5 separate regions of the Homo sapiens genome follow, and all the other regions are linked to region 4. The links are contacts of gene promoters, found by promoter capture Hi-C in blood cells and fetal thymus (Javierre and others, 2016). All regions are on one chromosome and are shown on one strand. The core of a region is centred on a gene start or on the middle of the fragment in contact, and the rest is flanking DNA. Distances in the headings are between cores, read along the strand shown. Region 1 has its middle 50 kb from the start of PMFBP1. Region 2 overlaps PMFBP1 (polyamine modulated factor 1 binding protein 1). Region 3 overlaps PMFBP1 (polyamine modulated factor 1 binding protein 1). Region 4 holds the start of PSMD7 (proteasome 26S subunit, non-ATPase 7). Region 5 has its middle 74 kb from the start of PMFBP1.

Region 1 (3,655 bases), core at 438-2,937, 2.1 Mb after region 4:
CCTGTTCAGGGTACTCTACTCAGCAGCTCTAGCTTGTTGGCCCTTACTTATGATTTGGGCAGGTGACCTGCTACCTAGGAAGTCTTTTATTCTCATGCTTCATATATTTCAAACTTTGCCTTGGTCCAGCATGGTATTCAAAACACTGAATAATTTTACAGCCCAGCCACTGACTGGTCATAAGGAACACTGAGAACACCAACTGTAAACAACTGTTAGGGCCATATCAGAACAGCCAGCTGAGTACCCACTTGGATATTGGCATCTTCTGGGTTACAAGAGCCTTGCAATTAAGGATGAGCCAACAGACCTGTAATCGGGAACTACACCCAGTCTTTTAAAAACAAGATTAAAACAAAATGAAAAATAAAATGCAATCCACTCACTGTCACTGAATTTCCAAAGATTAGTAATGCCAGTTCACTAATACTGATCCACAACTGTCTCCTAGGCAAGGCAGGAAAGAGCCATGGAAATTCGGTGCTGTGACATACTCCTCAACTTTAACCTTTCTTCCTTGTGCAGGATGGGATTTTTTTCCCCAGTGCCTTTGAGATGTCCTGGAGAACAGGAAGCAAAACTTCCCCCCAGTTCTTGCCCTGCTGCATCCCACTCCCATGCACAGCCTGGGGTAGCATATTCATGACCCAGTGAGGCTGTGTGTCATGACAAGCTGGCTAGCCTTTTATTAATACCCAAGATTATTCACTCCCCTTTTTATTTGAAAGAGCCAAATAATTTTAAATACCACCTATAAGACTGCAGCTGTCCCCAGAAATGGAATTCTGATTGAATTCCTACTGCTCCTTTAAGAGTCAACTTAAATGTCACCTTTAAATAATAACTGCTGACATTTACCCAGAGCTTACTCTAAGCCAGGCACTTTGCTAAGGGCTTCTCATGGATTTCTCATTTCATCTTCAAAAAAGAAAAAAACAAAAACAAAAAACTCCAAGGTAAGTACTAATACTATCCCCATTTTACAGATGTGGAAACTGAGAGATTAAATAACTTACCCAACATCTCATAGCTGGTAAGTGGGAGAGTCGGCAGTCTAACATCTGGGTCCTCAGCACCGTTACATAGCAGGTATTCAACAAATGACCTGAGGGATGGGCACAGTCTTTGTTTCCCTTTGTGCTGTGGTCTCTGCAGTGACCCTCACATTTGCAGTGACTTAACCAGCACCTGTCTTCCCAAACTCAACAAGCCCACTGCTCTATCCCCCCAGACCTGATACCATGCTTGGCATATTGCAAGCATGCAATAAAATATTTGTGGAAATAAGAGATAGAAGGAGGAAGGAGGGAAGAACAAAAAGCCTTTCTAGTTTGAGGCTTGGAAAATACAGTGACCTGAAATGAACTTTGGAATGAAAAGAAGCTGAGGGCTGCACTGATCTTAGGTTTAACATGCCAGGGTTATGCCAGGCATGGTGGTGAGTGCCTTTAACCCAGCTACTTGAGAAGGTGAGGCAGGAAGGTCCCTTGAGACCAGGAATTCAAGACCAGTCTGAGCAACATAGCAAGATCCAGACTCAAAAAAACCCAACCAACCAAACCAAAAAACCCCACCAGGATTGCAACCCCAACTCTGCCACTTACTGGCCACACGACTCCCATGCATATTGCTTTACTTTGAGCTTCAGTTTCAACATCTTGTAAAATGGTTTTCTTTTTTGGAGTTACGAAAATTAAATGAAGTGACACATATACCTGAGCCCGGCAAAGTGCCTGCTACTCAATAACTGTTGTTAAGTGAGAGATACAGGGAAGAGGCTGGCATATTTCACCTCATATAGAGGAACATGTGGTCATCACTGATACATAAAATATTGCAAGAGACCAGTAACTCTTTCGAGTGATTCAACCAAATGACTCTATGTCTAAACATTAAAGTATGACATATGAAGTATCATCAGGAACATCAATTTTATGTCTCAATGCCAGCTTTACTAAGATGTGTAACTGTTTATATTTATAATGCAAATGTATTGCACGATTCCTGGTCAGAAGAGTTTAAACATCTGTTCTTTTCTCTCCCCCTTCATCCTTCCCGAGAGTAGGTACTCCTTCCCCATACTCTCCCTCCAGCACCCTTCATCTGCCTGTCACTTTTCAAAGACAAGCTCCTCAGAATGAAATCTCTGCTGTCTTTGTTTTCCTGGTTTCCATTTTGTATCCTAAAATATTCACTCCAAGTTCCGCTTGACAGACATTCCTAATCTAATCTCCACGTCTGCTTTCTAATTTTCACAGTCAGGATAAAACAAATAGGTTGGAGTTAATTGCCGGAGCAGCGGGCCAGAGCACTGAGCTGTGATTTATGAGCTGAGTGCAGGCGCTCTGCAACACATTTTTCTTAATTTATTTTTAATGAGTCTCTCAATTAATTTTCTTGGAAACATCTTAATGATGTTGGAGGCGGGTGTTAATGAGGTCTGCACCAGCTCCTAATTTTGCATATTTTAAAGTGCCTAATGTCATCATGCACCCTTTCTTTCCATTTTAAGAAGAGATGTCAGGGGTGGCAGGGGGCGAGGATTATTGTTGAATGGAGAATTTTCACTCTTCATGCCTCAGTCTTTGCTTAACCTTTCAGACTTTATGGGCTTTTGGTGTTCTCAGCGCAATCACATACCCCTGCTCTCCTTCCCCACCCTTGCTCTCTCTAGGTTCGCTTAGGCTGAGAAGCTGCAGCAGGAAAGGAAGGGAAAGGGCACAATCCTCAGGAAACTGAGAGTTCTGGGGAGCAGTCAGTGGACCTAGTGAAGATGTCCAGGGGGTACTTTTGCTAGGTTGATCGACCTTTCCCAAAGCAGACAGTGATTAGGGAAAAATGCAACTGGAAGAAACAACTCGAGGGATGTGTTCTTACCATCTGGCCATTTGTTCAGAGCCCTGGGTCCCCTCAATGTGTCTGCAGAGCCTAGGGCACCAGATCCACAGGACTGCAGCACTGTCCACCTTGCATCCTGCAAGGCCTGGAGAAAAATGCAAGGCCGAGTACTGTCTCTGAGCCCTCTCTCATACCTCCTGTCTCCACTAAGTCTTCATCATTCTTCATTCTGTGTTTTCTCGTTGGAGCTCATTTTTCTGATTAAATAGTCATTAAATGTTTATATAGAAAATCTAGGAAATGCAAAAGAATTTATCAAATAGGGGAAAACCAAGCTCTACCACTTAAAGACAACCTCTATTCAAATTATGGTATGTTTCCTTCTAGACATTTTTTTCCTATTCATGGGCTTTTGGTTTTTATTTTATGCATTTGCGATATACTGAATATCCTTTTTTCCATTTAACATTATAACATTAGATAACATACTTCCTTCAAGCATCGTTTTTAATGGCTGTTTAATATTCCATCTAGCAGATGTGTCATAATTTACTAAACCACTCCACTGTAGTTGGGCATCTAAGCTAATTCTCAAACTGTTATTGCAAATACTTTGTGATGAACATCTTTGTACTGAAAGCTTCTTTAAAAAAGTTTGAAGTTAGTTTCTTTGGAATAACCTGAGGATTTGATTTAAAGAGTATAATTCTTTTTAAGGCTCTTGATATATATTTCCAAGTTACTTTTCAAAGAGTTATGCCCGTTCATTTCCAACTGCCATACGTGAGTGTGTCTGTTTCTTCAATCTTGTGATAGT
Region 2 (3,682 bases), core at 929-3,428, 2.2 Mb after region 4:
GAGACTTTGCTGAAGTTGTTTATCAGCTTAAAGAGATTTGGGGCTGAGACGATGGGGTTTTCTAAATATACCATCATGTCATCTGCAAACAGAGACAATTTGACTTCCTCTTTTCCTAATTGTATACCCTTTATTTCTTTCTCTTGCGTGATTGCCCTGGCCAGAACTTCCAATACTACACGAATAGGAGTGGTGAGAGAGGGCATCCTTGTCTTGTGCTGGGTTTCAAAGGGAATGCTTCCGGTTTTTGCCCTTTCAGTATGATATTGGCTATGGGTTTGTCATAAATAGCTCTTATTATTTTGAGATACATCCCATCAATACCTAGTTTATTGAGAGATTTTAGCATGAAGCGCTGTTGAATTTTGTCAAAGGCCTTTTCTGCATCTATTGAGGTAATCATGTGGTTTTTGTCATTGCTTCTGTTTATGTGATGGATTACGTTTATTGATTTGCGTGTGTTGAACCACCCTTGCATCCCAAAGATGAAGCCGACTTGATCATGGTAGATAAGCTTTTTGATGTGCTGCTGGATTCGGTTTGCCAGTATTTTATTGAGGATTTTCGCATCAATGTTCATCAGGGATATTGGTCTAAAATTCTCTTTTTTTGTTGTGTCTCTGTTTTGGTATCAGGATGATGCTGGCCTTTTAAAATGAGTTAGGGAGGATTCCCTCTTTTTCTATTGATTGGAATAGTTTCAGAAGGAATGGTACTAACTCCTCTTTGTACCTCTTGTAGAATTCAGTTGTGAATTCGTCTGGTCCTGAACTTTTTTGGTTGACAGGCTATTAATTATTGCCTCAATTTCATAACCTGTTATTGGTCTATTCAGAGATTCAACTTCTTCCTGGTTTAGTTTTGGGAGGGTGTATGTGTCGAGGAATTTATCCATTTCTTCTAGATTTTCTAGTTTATTTGCATAGAGATGTTTATAGTATTCTCTGATGGTAGTTTGTATTTCTGTGGAATCAGTGGTGATGTCCCCCTTATCATTTTTTATTGCATCTATTTGATTCTTCTCTCTTTTCTTCTTTATTAGTCTGGCTAGCAGTCTATCTATTTTGTTGATCTTTTCAAAAATCCAGCTCCTGGATTCATTGATTTTTTGAAGGTTTTTTTGTGTCTCTATCTCCTTCAGTTCACTCTGATCTTAGTTATTTCTTGTCTTCTGCTAGCTTTTGAATTTGTTTGCTCTTACTTCTCTAGTTCTTTTAATTGTGATGTTAGGGTGTCAACTTCAGATCTTTCTTGCTTTCTCTTGTGGGATTTAGTGCTATAAATTTCCCTCTACACACTGCTTTAAATGTGTCCCAGAGATTCCAGTATGCTGTGTCTTTGTTCTCCTTGGTTTCAAAGAACATCTTTATTTCTGCCTTCATTTCGTTACTTACCCAGTAGTCATTCAGGAGCAGGTTGTTCAGTTTCCATGCAGTTGTGCGGTTTTGAGTGAGTTTCTTAATCCTGAGTTCTAATTTGATTTCACTGTGGTCTGAGAGACAGTTTGTTGTGATTTCTATTCTTCTACATTTGCTGAGGAGTGTTTTACTTCCAATTATGTGATCAATTTTAGAATAAGTGTGATGTGGTGCTGAGAAGAATGTATATTCTGTTGATTTGGGGTGGAGAGTTCTGTAGATGTCTATTAGGTCCGCTTGGTGCAGAGCTGAGTTCAAGTCCTGGATGTCCTTGTTAATTTTCTGTCTCATTGGTCTGTCTAATATTGACAGTGGAGTGTTAAAGTCTCCCACTATTATTGTATGGGAGTCTAAGTCTCCTTGTAGGTCTCTAAGAACTTGCTTTATGAATCTGGGTGCTCCTCTATTGGGTGCATATATATTTAGGATAGTTAGCTCTTCTTGTTGCATTGATCCCTTTACCATTATGTAATGCCAGAAGATTTTAATTTTTATGGAGTTGAATCTGTCAGTCCTTTATAAATTCTAGGTTTTATGTCTTGCTTAGAAAGGCCTTCACTACCTTCAGGATTATAAAAGTTTATTGTATATTTTCTTTAGCACTTTTATAATTTTGCATTTTTATGTTTTTATCTTTAGTCCATCTGGAATATATATTTTATATGTATAATGACATAAGGCTCGAATTTTATTATTTAAATAAATATCCAGTGGCCTCAAAACCATTTATTGAACATCCCAAGCCTTCCACACTGGTTCAGGTACCAGCTCACAGACCGATTCTTCTGTACACGGGACCTTCTCTGGACTCGGTATTTTTTTTATCTTTCTGCCAGTTCGTGTGCCAGTGTCAGAGTTTTTTAGTGACTTTAACTGGTAGCTTGTTTTAATAGATCCTGTTAGGACAGGTCCTCCTTCACTCTTCTACACTTTCTATTTTTTCTTGGCCATTTTTTTATTTCTTTTCTTAATGAAATTTAGATTTATGTTGACTGACTTTCAAATTATGTACTAATTTGGGGGAAATTAGCATGCCCTGTGGAATATGACATATTTTTACTTTTATGCAAGTTTTCTTGTGTGTCCTTCAGTAAGATTTTGTACTTTTCTCTGTAGATCTCACGTATTTCTTGCTATGTTTATTCCTGGACATATTTCAGTTGTTATTGGTTTTATAAATGGGATCTTTTATACATTTAATTTTATTAATTTTTTTTTTTGAGATGGAGTTTCGCTCTTGTTGCCCAGGCTGGAGTGCAATGGTGCAATCTCGGCTCACTGCAACATCCGCCTCCCAGGTTCAAGCGATTCTCCTGCCTCAGCCTCCCGAGTAGCTGGGATTACAGGCATGTGCCACCAGGCCTGGCTAATTTTGTACTTTTAGTAGAGAGGAGTGTTTCTCCATGTTGGTCAGGCTGGCCTCGAACTCCTGACCTCAGGTGATCTGCCTACCTTGGCCTCCCAAAGTGCTGGGATTACAGGCATGAGCCACCACACCCGGCCAATTTTTTTTGTCTCTGAGATGGAGTCTCACTCTGTCACCCAGTCTAGAGTGCAGTGAGGCAATCTCTGCTCACTGCAACCTCCGCCTCTTGGGTTCAAGCAATTCTTCTGCCTCAGCCTTCCAAGTAGCTGGGACTACAGGCACGTGCCACCACAGACAGCTAATTTTTGTTATTTTTGCAGAGACAGGGTTTCACCATGTTGGCCAGGCTGGTCTTGAACTCCTGACCTCAAGTGATCTTCCCACCTCAGCCTCCCAAAGTGCTGGGATTACAGGTGCAAGCCACCACGCCCGGCCTAATTGTATTATTACTGTTGTATAGGAAAACTTCTCTCTTATCCTGCCACCTTACTGAGCTCTCTTACCAGATTTTCACTTGACTGTCTTGGATTTTCCTAAATTGCTTTCCCTTTCAAAATTTACACAACTTATTTTCCATCTTATCGTATTGACCAGCATCTCTAGAGCAAAGTGGAATTGTAGCCTCTTTGCCTTGCTCCTCATTTTAAAGGAAGTAATTCTAGTATTTCACTATTAAGTATAATGCCTGTTCTTGGCTTATTTTCAATATCCTTTCTCAAATTGTAAGTATGACTGTCTATATTTAGCTTATCAAGAATTGTTATTAGGAATGAATGTTGAATTTTATCAGATGTTTTTATTAGCATCTATCCATCAATGAAGCAGATTACACGAATAGATTTTCATATATAGAACAATGTTTATGTTCCTGGAATAAACCCTATTTGATCATAATATA
Region 3 (3,774 bases), core at 19-2,518, 2.2 Mb after region 4:
AGCCCACACCCAAGGGATGGAAATAAGATGGAGAGGAGGGCTCAACCCTTCAGGCAGGCCTGGAAAGCCCTCTGCTGAGCTGGAAACAGCGATGGCAGGAAGGAAGGGGTGCTTTGCTCGGCAGCAAGAAGGAAGGGGGACATTGGCTCAGATATCCTCCTCCCATCCCAGGATCCAGCTTCACTGCCTGGCCCCCTTGAACTCATTCCCTTGAACTCACCTGGGGCTCACAGGATTTTGCATAGGAGTTGAGTTCAGAGAGTCCTCTGAATCCCCAGGTGCTAGGAAGGCCTTAGCTCTGCGGACGGGGTGATGCGTGGGGGACGTGGGATGCAGCAGCAGTCTTGCTGAGAACCCAGCATCCCATTCAGCCAGCTGCACCCTTGCTCGCGGGAGGCTGGCGACTGGCTGCTGTTTTCTCCTGTGATTTTATTACAGGGTCGCCAATGAGAAACTAGGAAACCAGCTCCGAGAGCAGGTGAAATACATTGCCAAGCTGAGTGGCGAAAAGGAGTAAGTCATCTTAAACCACCCTGGCTGCTTCCTGGGAGCTGACAAGAAGGGTCAGCAGGGAGCCAGGGCTGGCTTTAGCCCTTGATAGGGGGATCAGCCCAGGAAAGGCCTGGTGCTTTGGAAAGACCCCCAGGTCTCGAATCTGCATCTATGTGACCTTGGGTATATCACTTGACCTCTCAGGGCCTTAGTTCTCTCACCAAAAATCCAAAGGGAGTTTAGTAGTCTTTTTGCTCCTTCCTGCTCTCATGGTTCTCAGAGGTCAAGGGTGCTAAGCAGGGAACAGGCACTGAAAGGCAGACTGGATTATTTAGGGCAGGGGCTGAGATGCTCTAACAGATCCCAAGTGAAGGAACAAACAAGGAACATCTCTTCATGAAATCATCAGGTGAGCAGGCCAGGTTGGAGGAGCCCTTCTGTTCCACCTGCTCATCTGGGGGCCTGTGGTCTTGCTTCCCCTCATGGTCAAAGCTGGGTCCACTAAGAGGGAGGTATGCGAGGAGTGTTACCAGTTTGAGAATGGAGGTGAAGGTATGAAGGCCTAAAACTGAGATTTTGGAGGTGGCAAAGTAACAAGTAACAACAAGCCTTAGGACAGCGCTTCCCAACCTTTTCTTAGGGAACACTTAGAAAACAACCATGCCTTACGTAACACCATGGATACTATGCAGCTATCAAAAAGAATGAGATCATTTCTTTGTGGGAATATGGATGGAGCTAGAGGCTATTATCCTTAGCAAACTGACACAGGAATAGAAAACCAAGTACCACATGTTCTCACTTGTAAGTGGGAGCTAAATGATGAGAACTTAGGAACACAAAGAAGGAAACAACAGACAATGGGGTCTGTCAGAGGGTGGAGGGTGGGAGGAGGGAGAGGAGCAAACAAGATAACTATTGGGTACTGGGCTTAATTCCTGGGTGATGAAATAAAATGTACAACAAAATCCTGTGACATGAGTTTACCGATGTAACATGTACCCCTGAATCTAAACTAAAAGTGAAAATAAAATAAAAGTGAAAAAGAAAATGACCACAGTTTAGGATCACTTGAGCCCAGGAGTTTAAGACTAGCCTGGACGACAGCAAGGCCCTGTCTGTATAAAAAATTTAAAAATGAGCCTAACCAGGCATGGTGGTGCACACGTACAGTCCCAGCTAATTGGGAGGCTGGGGTGGGAGGATTGCTTGAGCCCAAGAGGTTGAGGCTACAGTGACCTATGTTCACACCACTGCACTCTGGCCTGGGTGACAGAATGAGACCCTGTCTCTAAAAAACGATGAAAGTAACCACATTTGTTTGGCATACTTGTGACAAAGCTGACCAAGCAGTGGCTGCCTCAGAGCCTGCCCCCAAGGGCAGGCAGGCATCTCCAAACACCTGGAATCCATTCGTGGCACCCCAGGTGGAAAGCCCTATTCTAGGCTTTGGCCTTAGGTACATGGCTGAGTTGAAGAGAAGGATGAGACCTTTGGAATAAGGAGGCCAATGAATTGAGAAGTCAGGATGTGGATGAGCTGTATGGGATATTGAAGGCTTTGGGGATGCTGACAGGAGGGAGCCAGAGAGCCGGGAAAGGAGGGCACTGCTGAGACCCCCTCTCCAGACCCACCAGCACTGGGAGTGAGGGGCTACTGGGCGGGGGAAGAGGCGACCTCAAGGTTGGCCAGCTTTGTAGAGAGCAAAAGGGTAGAGCATATGCCCACAGAAGAGGTTGAGGATGAATTCTCTACTTGATTTCCTCTAGAAAAGACCACGAAACTTTTTACTAGGGTGTAAGTAAAAGAAAAGTTGTCAGATTCTCAAGGTAACAGATAACTTCAGTCTTTTTCTTCTATTGTGCCAAGTCCAGGAAGTTCTCTTTCACAAAGAACTCACTCTTGAGTTCTCCTGTTCTTATTTGAAAGAAAACCAACTTTTAATGATGATAGTAGCTCAACTAATACATATTATTTGCTGTGTGTGAGGTACTAAGCGTTGACACATATGAGCTCATTTCATCTTCATAAGACCTCCTGTGTTCAGTATAGTCATGATCCCCATTTATGGATGAGGAAAGAGAGGACCTGGGAAACTAAGTAACTTGCCCCTGGTCTCAAAACTAATAAGTGGCAGAGTCACAATTCCAACGTGGGAAGTCTGGTTTCAGAGCCCACCTTCACCCACTGCCCTCAACATTAGTTTGGAGACACACAACAGTGATAATAAAAGTTGCTATTTATTGAGCCACGGGGAATGCGCTAAATTATCTTTCCTCTCCTCTACGTGGCAGCCTCCATTTCCTAATCTGTAAAATGGGGATGAGTAACTCACCCAAGTTCTTGACAGAGCTGGGATCTCCTGTGCTCCCGACTCTTCAGCAAAGGGGAGCGGAGAGAATGCGGGCTTTGGCATTGGTGCTGGGTGAGAGTGTTTCCAAGGCACGGCCATGAGAACCCGAGGACACATGATCACAGTTGTCCCTACCAGCCTTCTGGCTCTTCAAGTCAAATTTCTATCATTTATCAAACCAGATCCTCGTATGAATCCCATCAGTCAGGCCAGGCCTGACTGTCCCCGTCTGACAGATAAGAAAACAGGCCCAGAGCTGGCAGAGTTGGGCAGGAGTACCAGCTCCTGGTCCACTCAGACCCCAGGCCTGGGCTTCTTTCACAGGACACACGTAGGCTTCCATTTCTACAGAGCATGTGTAACAGGCCGGCTCTGAACAGACCTGGGCATCTGTGCTGTCTTCCCTGTGACACCTTTATCTGTCCTTTCTAGCAGGGAACCAACCAGAGCCAGCAGCCCCAACACAACCCGTCCTTCCTCTCCTTCCCACAGCCACCTCCACAGTGTAATGGTCCACTTGCAGCAGGAAAACAAGAAGCTGAAGAAGGAGATAGAAGAGAAGAAGATGAAAGCCGAGAACACAAGGCTATGCACCAAAGCCCTAGGCCCGAGCAGAACGGAGTCCACACAGAGGGAGAAAGTGTGCGGCACCTTGGGCTGGAAGGGGTTGCCCCAGGATATGGGTCAAAGAATGGACCTCACCAAGTACATCGGGATGCCCCACTGCCCGGGTACGTCTGCCATTTGTCAAAAAAATAAGTGTGATTTTTTTCTTTAAATCACTGGATTGAGAATTCAAGTAGGAAGAAGAAAATAGGCCTTTTGTGGCCTCAAGTCATTTTCTTAGCGACTTTGGACCAAAGATCGTTGTTTTCACATCTGTAAAGGGAGGAGGCAAATTAAGACCCCTTCTGATCTAAGAACATCTG
Region 4 (3,668 bases), core at 1-2,500:
GTCTCAGCCTCCCAAAATGCTGGGATTACAGGCGTGAGCCACCATGCTCGGCCTCGTGTTTTAAATAAAAACTGAAACCTCATCTATATATACATTTTTTTTTTTGAGACGGAGTCTAATCAGATTCCCATTTAAAAATGTTAATGGGTTAAAACCACAGCTGATCCAGGAAGCCCTTCGGGGTGCTGAGCATCATCCAGATTTCGATAACAGGAACTCGGTCAAATGAAGACAAACATAGATACGACCCTGGGGGCGGGGGTCAGGGCCAAATTGAAGCTAGCCCCCTTAGCCCCACTCCGGCATCATCCAGGCATCATTCACTTTGCATCATTCACATTTCGGTGAAATCAACTTGGTTAAACGAGGATAAACATAAATACGACCCTGGGGCCGGGGTCAGGGCCAAATGAAGGTAGCCACCCTGCACCCCACTCCAGCATCATCCATATTTCGGTGAAACCAATTCGGTCAAACGAAGATAAACATAGCCTTGGGGCGGGGCTAAATGGAGCTAGCCCACTCCGCCCCACCCAAGCATCATCCAGACATCAGTCACTTTGCATTATTCACATTTCAGTGAAATCAACTGAGTCAAATGAAGATACGACCCTGGGGTCGGGGGTCAGAGCCAAATGAAGCTAGCCCGCCTCCGCCCCACCCTGGCTTTATCCAGATTTCGGCAAAACGAACTTCAAAACGAAGTGACAGACACGAGCTTGGGGGCGGGGGTCAGGGCCAACTAAAGCTAGCCGCATCTCCCGACCCCCAGCATCATCCAGATTTCGGTAAAACGAACTTCGGCAAAACGAACTCGGAAAGGGAACTCTGTAAAACAAACAGGCTAAACGGAACAGGCAGCCAAGGCCCCGAAGTGGCGGCGGCTGGGGCAGGGGCGGGAGGCTGGATGACTCCGGCATCGTGAGCCGACGCTGGTCTGGACTCGTGAACAAGTAAGGGTCACCAGCCGCCCTATCTGCGTCCCCAGCTCGTCCGCGGCCGCCGCGCCATCTCCAGCGTGCCCGTGACTCAGCAGCGGCTGCGCCGCCGGCCCAGCTATAGGGCGCTCGCTCACCGGTTGAAATGATCCACCACACTGAGCAGCACCAGGGGGTGGACCACCACCTTCTGCACTGCCAGCTCCGGCATCGCGACACACCCCGCTCGCCAGGCCTGGCTCCCTGCCACACGCAAACACCGGCAGCAGTAGCGGTCACCGGTACCCTTTCAGGCCCAGTTCCTCTTCTTCCGGTTCGTCAGCCCTCGCGCGGCCTCCTTCTTCCGCTCCCAGAGTGCCTCGCGCGGCGGGCCCGGATCTTCGCCACCGCCGTCATTTGTGGGCGGAGAAAGGGCTGGAGAAAGGCGGGAATCGCCCCTCGTCCCTCGCCGTGCGTTTCCCTGGACTTAAGGGCCGAAGGGACACCGGCGACTTGACCTCCTGGTATTGGCCTGTACCGTCACCTGCAGAGGCTTTTCGCCTCAATTCCTTCCCAGCACCCTCCCCCCGCCACCCCCCCAAAGTAAATAGTTGACAGTTTACTTTTCTACCACCCGGAAGAAGTTCACTTTTGCTTCAGGTCAAAATCCTCCGCGATTTCTGAGAGGAACTTTAAATCTCTAACATAAGAGCACGCTTTTAATGTAATTTGGTAATTTATCTCATTCTCGTTTTCATTGCCGGGGGAATTTCTCCTTTATCTTTACTGTGGACACTTTGCAATGAACGTGGCAACCTGCAGGTTTCCACCTGTCGTTATATTACTGCGTAACTAGGGCTAGAAGAACGCAATTGTGCCGTTGCTTTTGAAATCAAAATTTACAGAAGCGTTGAAGAAAAGACGGAAGGAAGGCAGTAAGGAAGTATGTTGTGATATGTAGCTAGGAAAGAGAAGACTAAGGTAGACAAAGACTTAAGCTTATTTGCAGGAGGCAAATTATAAGAAAAATCATACAGGTTTATATCGTCTCATTTGAAGTTGCTGTTTCTGTAAACGAAAACAGTACTTAAGCAACCTGAATTATTTACTTATATTTTGTTCTGTTTTTAAACAATTTTTGCTTTCCCTTTATCACCAGAGGATTTTCCCAACATTTTGGCCTCTTGTCTTTTTAAGGTGGACTTCCTGATCTCCAAATGTCAAGGGACACACTCAGTCTCTCTTATTTGTGGGTGGTGAAAAACATTAGCAAAGATTAGACTGAAATTTGGCCACCAATGAGAGACATTAATGTAGTCAGGAGTTTGAATTTGTCTGCATGTGAATTTATCTTTGTCTTCTGTCTGCAACTTGGCTTTATTTTCAGATTTTCTGCTAGATCTGCAAGGAAGTAAATGGCAGGATATGCTTAATATTCATAATTAATTGAAGAGACTCAATGCTATCTTTATTTTTTCATTTTTTTTTTTGGTACAGTTGGTGTCTCACTATGTTGTCCAAGCTGGTCTTAAACCCCCAGCCTCAAGCAATCCTCCCACCTCAGCCTCCCAAACTGCTGGGATTACAGGTGTGAGCTACTGTGCCTGGCCATTCATTCTTAATTATAACTAGAAAGATATAAGGGTTATGTTAATGGGGAAAGAAAACTAAGAATTATTGAATCTATTGAGTGCCTATAATATGCCAGCCCTGGTTCAGACGCAAATATTTAATCCTTTTAATTAATGCTTCTCAAACTTTGATATGCTTACAAATCACCAGGGGACCTTGTTAAAATTCAGATTCTGATTCTGTAGGTCTGAGATGGGACCTGAAATTCTGAGCTTCTAACAAGCTTTCAGGTGAGGCCCATGCTGTGTTAACAAGGCTTGTAACAACCTTACGAAGTCGGTATTTTCTCATTACAAATGAAAATTGTTGCTCAAATGTTGCTCTCGAGGTGGGCTTTTTCTCACGCTTTGAAAAAATTTTGTCTTTCTCCCCCTAATGTGTTTCTGCTTTAGTTTTCTCCATAGTTTTTACCACTTGTGAATAGTTTGTAGAATTTACTTATTCTGTTCATTCTTTGTCTCTCATTAGAATGTAAGCTCTTGTTTAGTTTGTAAACTCCTGTTTACTTTTTTTTTTTTTTTTAAATAAATGAGAGACAGTCTCGCTCTGTCACCCAGTCCGGAATGCAGTGGCACAATCTTGGCTCACTGCAACCTTCACCTCCCAGGTTCAAGCGATTCTCATACCTCAGCCTCCCAAGTAGCTGGGACTACAGGTGAGCGCCACCATGCCCCACTAATTTTTCTATTTTTAGTAGAGATGGAGTTTCACTGTGTTGGCCAGGCTTATCTGGAACTCCTGAACTCAAGTGATCTGCCTGCCTTGGCTTCCCAAAGTGCTGGGATTATAGGTGTGAGCCACTGCACCTGGCCCCTAGTTTACTTTTATATTATCATTGTCTTGAAAAGTGCCTGGCACATAGGAGACATTCAGTAATTACTATATAAATGAATAATTAGTTATGATAGTGAAATGGAAGATGACAATAAGGCTCAGACATTGGGAAGGATCTTTCCAAGATCACATTGCTGGTCAGGATCAAGCCAGGTTTCTGTGACCCCAGTTCCTAATTGGTTGGTGTGCCTGCTTGCAGCAGTCTTAGGCAAAAGAATTGCATTAATTTTATTAAGATACTAAATTTCAAACTTTAGAAAGTGATATATTTTATTTCACACTGAG
Region 5 (3,829 bases), core at 841-3,340, 2.1 Mb after region 4:
TCCAAAACTAATATTTCACAAGCCACATTGCACCTTGTCACTGAATCCTATTTCACCCTCAAGATAATGTCCAAGTATTAATGGACCCAATTTGGTGGAAATTACCTAATTGGCTGCAGTCACTTCAACTTGAATGTGACATTTTGGGATGTTCTGTAGTCACAAGGATAAGTTAGAAGCTTGGGCAGCAGACTTGCTCTTTGTGATAATTGTAGCTGAAGCTTGTGTTATCACTGAAGCTTATTATTTTGCAAGTTGTACACTCAGCTTTTTGTAAAAATTGTACTCTAAGGAAAAATCCCTGAGGATGCTGCTTTTCTCTCCTGGTTTTTCTAAAACCTCCAGATGAAAATGACCAAAGAAAATGCTCTGTGATTGCATTTAAGCACACTTAACTACATGCCACCTTATAAAATATCTTAGTATCATGCATTAGACAGAGATCCTTAAGTCTCTGTGTTCTTTACCTTGTGTGATTATTCAGTTAACTAAATTACTGCTAGCAAATGGCATTAATGAAGGGCATTCCTTCTATCCTGGGGAAATTGTGTACCTCTTCATCGGACAGGTAAATGGGGAGTAAGAAGTCAGCTTCCTGCTTTCATCGTCGCCTGCCCCATTTTGTGTCAGAGCATTTTGCTTGTGAAAACAGTAAGCTCATTCCTGAACAGTAGGAGGGTATCAAACAGTGGGCATCTTTCTCTTGTTAGTAAAACTTTTTATTTCTATACTGCTTTATAGTTTCAGGAGGATATTCCTTCCCTCTCTCCCTCTCTTTCTTCCTTCCTTGTATATTTAGAGTAAATAAGATGGTCCATGCCCTTTGCTAGGCACTGAAGATAAAAAGAGAAATAAATATAGTCTCTGCCCTCAATAAGCTTCCTCGTTAAGAAGGGGAGAGAGAATAATAACCAGTCAATCATTATCCTATACAGCGAGCGTTCTAACCATGTGTACTACAGGAAATACTGAGAAGACAGGAAGCCTCACAGAGAAAGTAACCTTGTGGCCAGATCTTGAAAGATGAACAGGTGTTTACAGCTGGAGAAAGAGGAGTGATGAGAGGGGACTGGGGAAGTTGTCACCTCAAGCAGAAGGGACAGCAGGTGTGAGGACATTAAGGCACGAAATACGTGACTGAAATGGCAGGTGAGGCCAGATCACAAAGGACCTATGTGCCTTGTCCAGGTGTCTGGAATTTGTCATATGGCGCTTTCATTTCAGCTGTTCCTCACAGTAGCCTGAGGAGTCTGATGTTATCCAACAGCAAACCAGTGTCCTGAGAAATAGAGGACCTAGGCTGTAGTAGGATTCTGCCACCTACTACCACTTGTCAACTTGAGGCAAGTCACCAGGCCTCTTTGAGCTTAGAACACACATCACCTATTTATCACTTCTCTATGCAACAGTAATTTAATATTAATGCTATTGTCCTTTCAGCAACTGTCTGTTACCATATACTGTTAATGTACTTTTCTTAGGCACTGGGTGCTATTAGCCGATGAGAGTGAATCTGGCAAACTGTAATCTCCTCCCTCCCCAGTGCGCATAATGCACCATTCTGCAACCACTCTTACCCAATGAGTATGCTCCCACACTATCCAGAGTAGACTGTCTTTTGCAGTGGTGGTGTTTATTCTGCCATGATCTCTCTTTCTGCCATTTATTTTTGTCCCGAGAAGCAGTTTTGATCCATAATGGCTAACAAAAGATGGTCAAGCACTGGTGCTGGAGCAAAGAAATAGAGAGTGTCATGCTGGGTGTTCAAATACAAGTGTAATATCAGCTCAAGTGAAGTTCAAGGAAATGGTTGGAGAGAGAGAGTGAAGGAGAGAGAGAGGGAGAAGCCATCAGCAGAGAGTTAAAGAGCAGTGGCAGTGTGACTTGGGAAGGGCACCGTACAGACCGGGGCATCCTGGGAGCACTGCACTACACCTGTGACAGCAGGCTGGGAGAAAATTTGGCTGGAGAGAAGCCATGAACTCGGGGAACCTGGAGGGAACAGATTAGCCATCGTCAGCCATTGCCATGATTCTGAAAACATGTCTCTGTAGGGTCTGTGTTTTCAGGACCATATGCAGCACGAATTCAGGCAGTGCACCCTTTTCTGAAAAGAGTGCAACCCCTGTGCAAACCATGGGGAATTCATGGTTTACTAAACTACAGCGTTTAAGAGCATGGGCTCTGTAGCCAGGCCATCTGGGTTTGAAGCCCAGCTTTACCATTTACCAGCTGTACCACCTTGGATATTGAACCTCACGGCATCTCAGTTCCCCCACCTGTAAAATGGAAGTAGCAGTACTATCTACCAACCAGGGTAGTTGAGATAATAGAATACTTGTAAAGTGCTTAGAATAGTGCCTAGCACATGTTAAATGCTCAAAAATATTAGTTATAATTGTTTTTATTATTATAACTGCTGTTATTGTTATTTAGTTTTCTGTCTATAAAATGAGGAGAATTGATTAAATAATCCCTGAGATCCCCCCCAGTGCTAACATTACCTGAACTCATTAATCCCTTTAGCCCTAGGAGAAAACTGCAACTCTGAGGAATTGACTGCCCCCACCAGGATTACACGGGGAGTAAGGAGTAAATGCAAAACTGGAACTGGAACCCAAGTCAGTTGCCCGACTCTCATGCCCCCCATGCTCTCTTGCGTGCCCAAAACTGACCAGAGCATCACGCAGCGGGGCCCCTTGCTCCCTAACCTCTTGCACCCTTGGAGTGGCAGAGTTTCAGGCCAGCTCTGGTTTTTGTTTTGTTTTTTAACCCCTTCCATTCTTCTGTGAATCAAGAAGGGAAGTGGCTAGCCTGGGGAGTGAAAGGGATTTGTTGCACTGGAAGAAATAAAATTTAGCCTAACTTTAATAAACTAAAGAATATTTCTCCCAGCATTTACAGCTCAAGCATCTTCTGTTGGTCCCCATACCAGTAGGAGATTTGGTCATCCTTTTGGAGAAAGTGAAAGGATTTTCCACCCAGTTTTGGAGGAAAAGAAATCTTTAGATGTGGCCCTTTGTCTTAACCACCCATTGCTCTTGTTTTATGTGGCTGGAATCTCAGTCATACTTGTTTCCTTTCTGGTGCAATTATGGCAATTCTTCAAGGACCCAGTAGAACCTGAGAAAGCAGGGAGAGGGGAGAAGAAGGAGAGGGGACGTATTTTCAACAAACTGACCTATCCTTTATCCTTTAGTGTCAATTTTGGCAATATTTGCATCTATATTCTTTTCTACACATTTACAACCCACTTACACATAACAGGGACTCTGGTCTCTAGCTACTGGGAATGAAGCTTTCCTCTTTTGTTTATTATCTCTCTTTTTTTTCTTGTCTGTGTCCATTTCAATATTAGAATAATCATTACCCTCAATAGCTAAAATATCTGTGCAGGGTTTGTTTTTTTAATAAGTATTTTTCATTTGACTGAACCGATTTCATCAAAGGAGGTTAATGTGATCACTTTAATTTGCAAAATGCCTTCCTCTTTTTATTTCTTCTGCATTTGATTTTGAGCACACGTTTAATTGTTTTTGAGGGTTTGTGTTTCAGCCTCAGCTGGACATGCAGAATAGGCTCTAGACAGTCTCAGAATTTCATTATGACCAAGGAACCACTATTCTATAAACACTGAAAATTGGAAATTATCTCTAGAGCTGTTTGTTAACGAAGTCGAAGGCTAACCTTTAGGGCTCATTAAAATTCCACTGATGAAAACTCTCGTGCAGGTCAGTCCCTCTTTCAGGAATCTATCCCTGTGTTACGAGTGCTGGTGTGCGGAAATCAGTCTGGACCCTCCCCTTTGCCCTCCCCTTTAATCTCTTGG

What was found. The method cuts DNA at HindIII sites, captures the fragments that hold promoters and counts their contacts. A CHiCAGO score of 5 or more calls a contact.
Region 1: a contact is called between a fragment that was not itself captured here and the fragment with the promoter of PSMD7 in region 4, in 1 of 17 cell types (M2 macrophages). The highest score is 5.4, in M2 macrophages.
Region 2: a contact is called between a fragment that was not itself captured here and the fragment with the promoter of PSMD7 in region 4, in 1 of 17 cell types (M2 macrophages). The highest score is 5.7, in M2 macrophages.
Region 3: a fragment that was not itself captured here is called in contact with the fragment with the promoter of PSMD7 in region 4 in 10 of 17 cell types (M2 macrophages, total B cells, naive B cells and 7 more); the score reaches 14.2 in M2 macrophages.
Region 5: a fragment that was not itself captured here is called in contact with the fragment with the promoter of PSMD7 in region 4 in 1 of 17 cell types (M1 macrophages); the score reaches 6.6 in M1 macrophages.

The regions. Positions count from the first base shown.
Region 1 is chr16:72,220,041-72,223,695 of GRCh38, reverse strand. It overlaps a transcript of PMFBP1 not described here. Among named protein-coding and RNA genes, the nearest start is that of PMFBP1, 50 kb to the right of the region's middle. RefSeq lists enhancers at 1-482, 1,770-3,029. The HindIII fragment of the contact is 3,587 bases long and covers 1-3,480 here.
Region 2 is chr16:72,142,998-72,146,679 of GRCh38, reverse strand. All of the region lies in intron 5 of PMFBP1 (polyamine modulated factor 1 binding protein 1), which reads left to right. Among named protein-coding and RNA genes, the nearest start is that of PMFBP1, 27 kb to the left of the region's middle. The HindIII fragment of the contact is 3,324 bases long and covers 517-3,682 here.
Region 3 is chr16:72,119,653-72,123,426 of GRCh38, reverse strand. PMFBP1 (polyamine modulated factor 1 binding protein 1) reads left to right here. Exons shown (of 21, transcript NM_031293.3): 19 at 439-513; 20 at 3,338-3,576. Among named protein-coding and RNA genes, the nearest start is that of DHX38, 28 kb to the right of the region's middle. The HindIII fragment of the contact is 6,407 bases long and covers 1-3,774 here.
Region 4 is chr16:74,294,396-74,298,063 of GRCh38, reverse strand. It overlaps PSMD7 (proteasome 26S subunit, non-ATPase 7), which reads right to left and starts at 1,250. Exons shown (of 7, transcript NM_002811.5): 1 at 1,076-1,250. The coding sequence starts at 1,149. RefSeq lists enhancers at 236-1,125, 1,026-1,335, 1,126-2,017. The HindIII fragment of the contact is 3,645 bases long and covers 1-1,917 here.
Region 5 is chr16:72,243,797-72,247,625 of GRCh38, reverse strand. It overlaps a transcript of PMFBP1 not described here. Among named protein-coding and RNA genes, the nearest start is that of PMFBP1, 74 kb to the right of the region's middle. The HindIII fragment of the contact is 2,420 bases long and covers 881-3,300 here.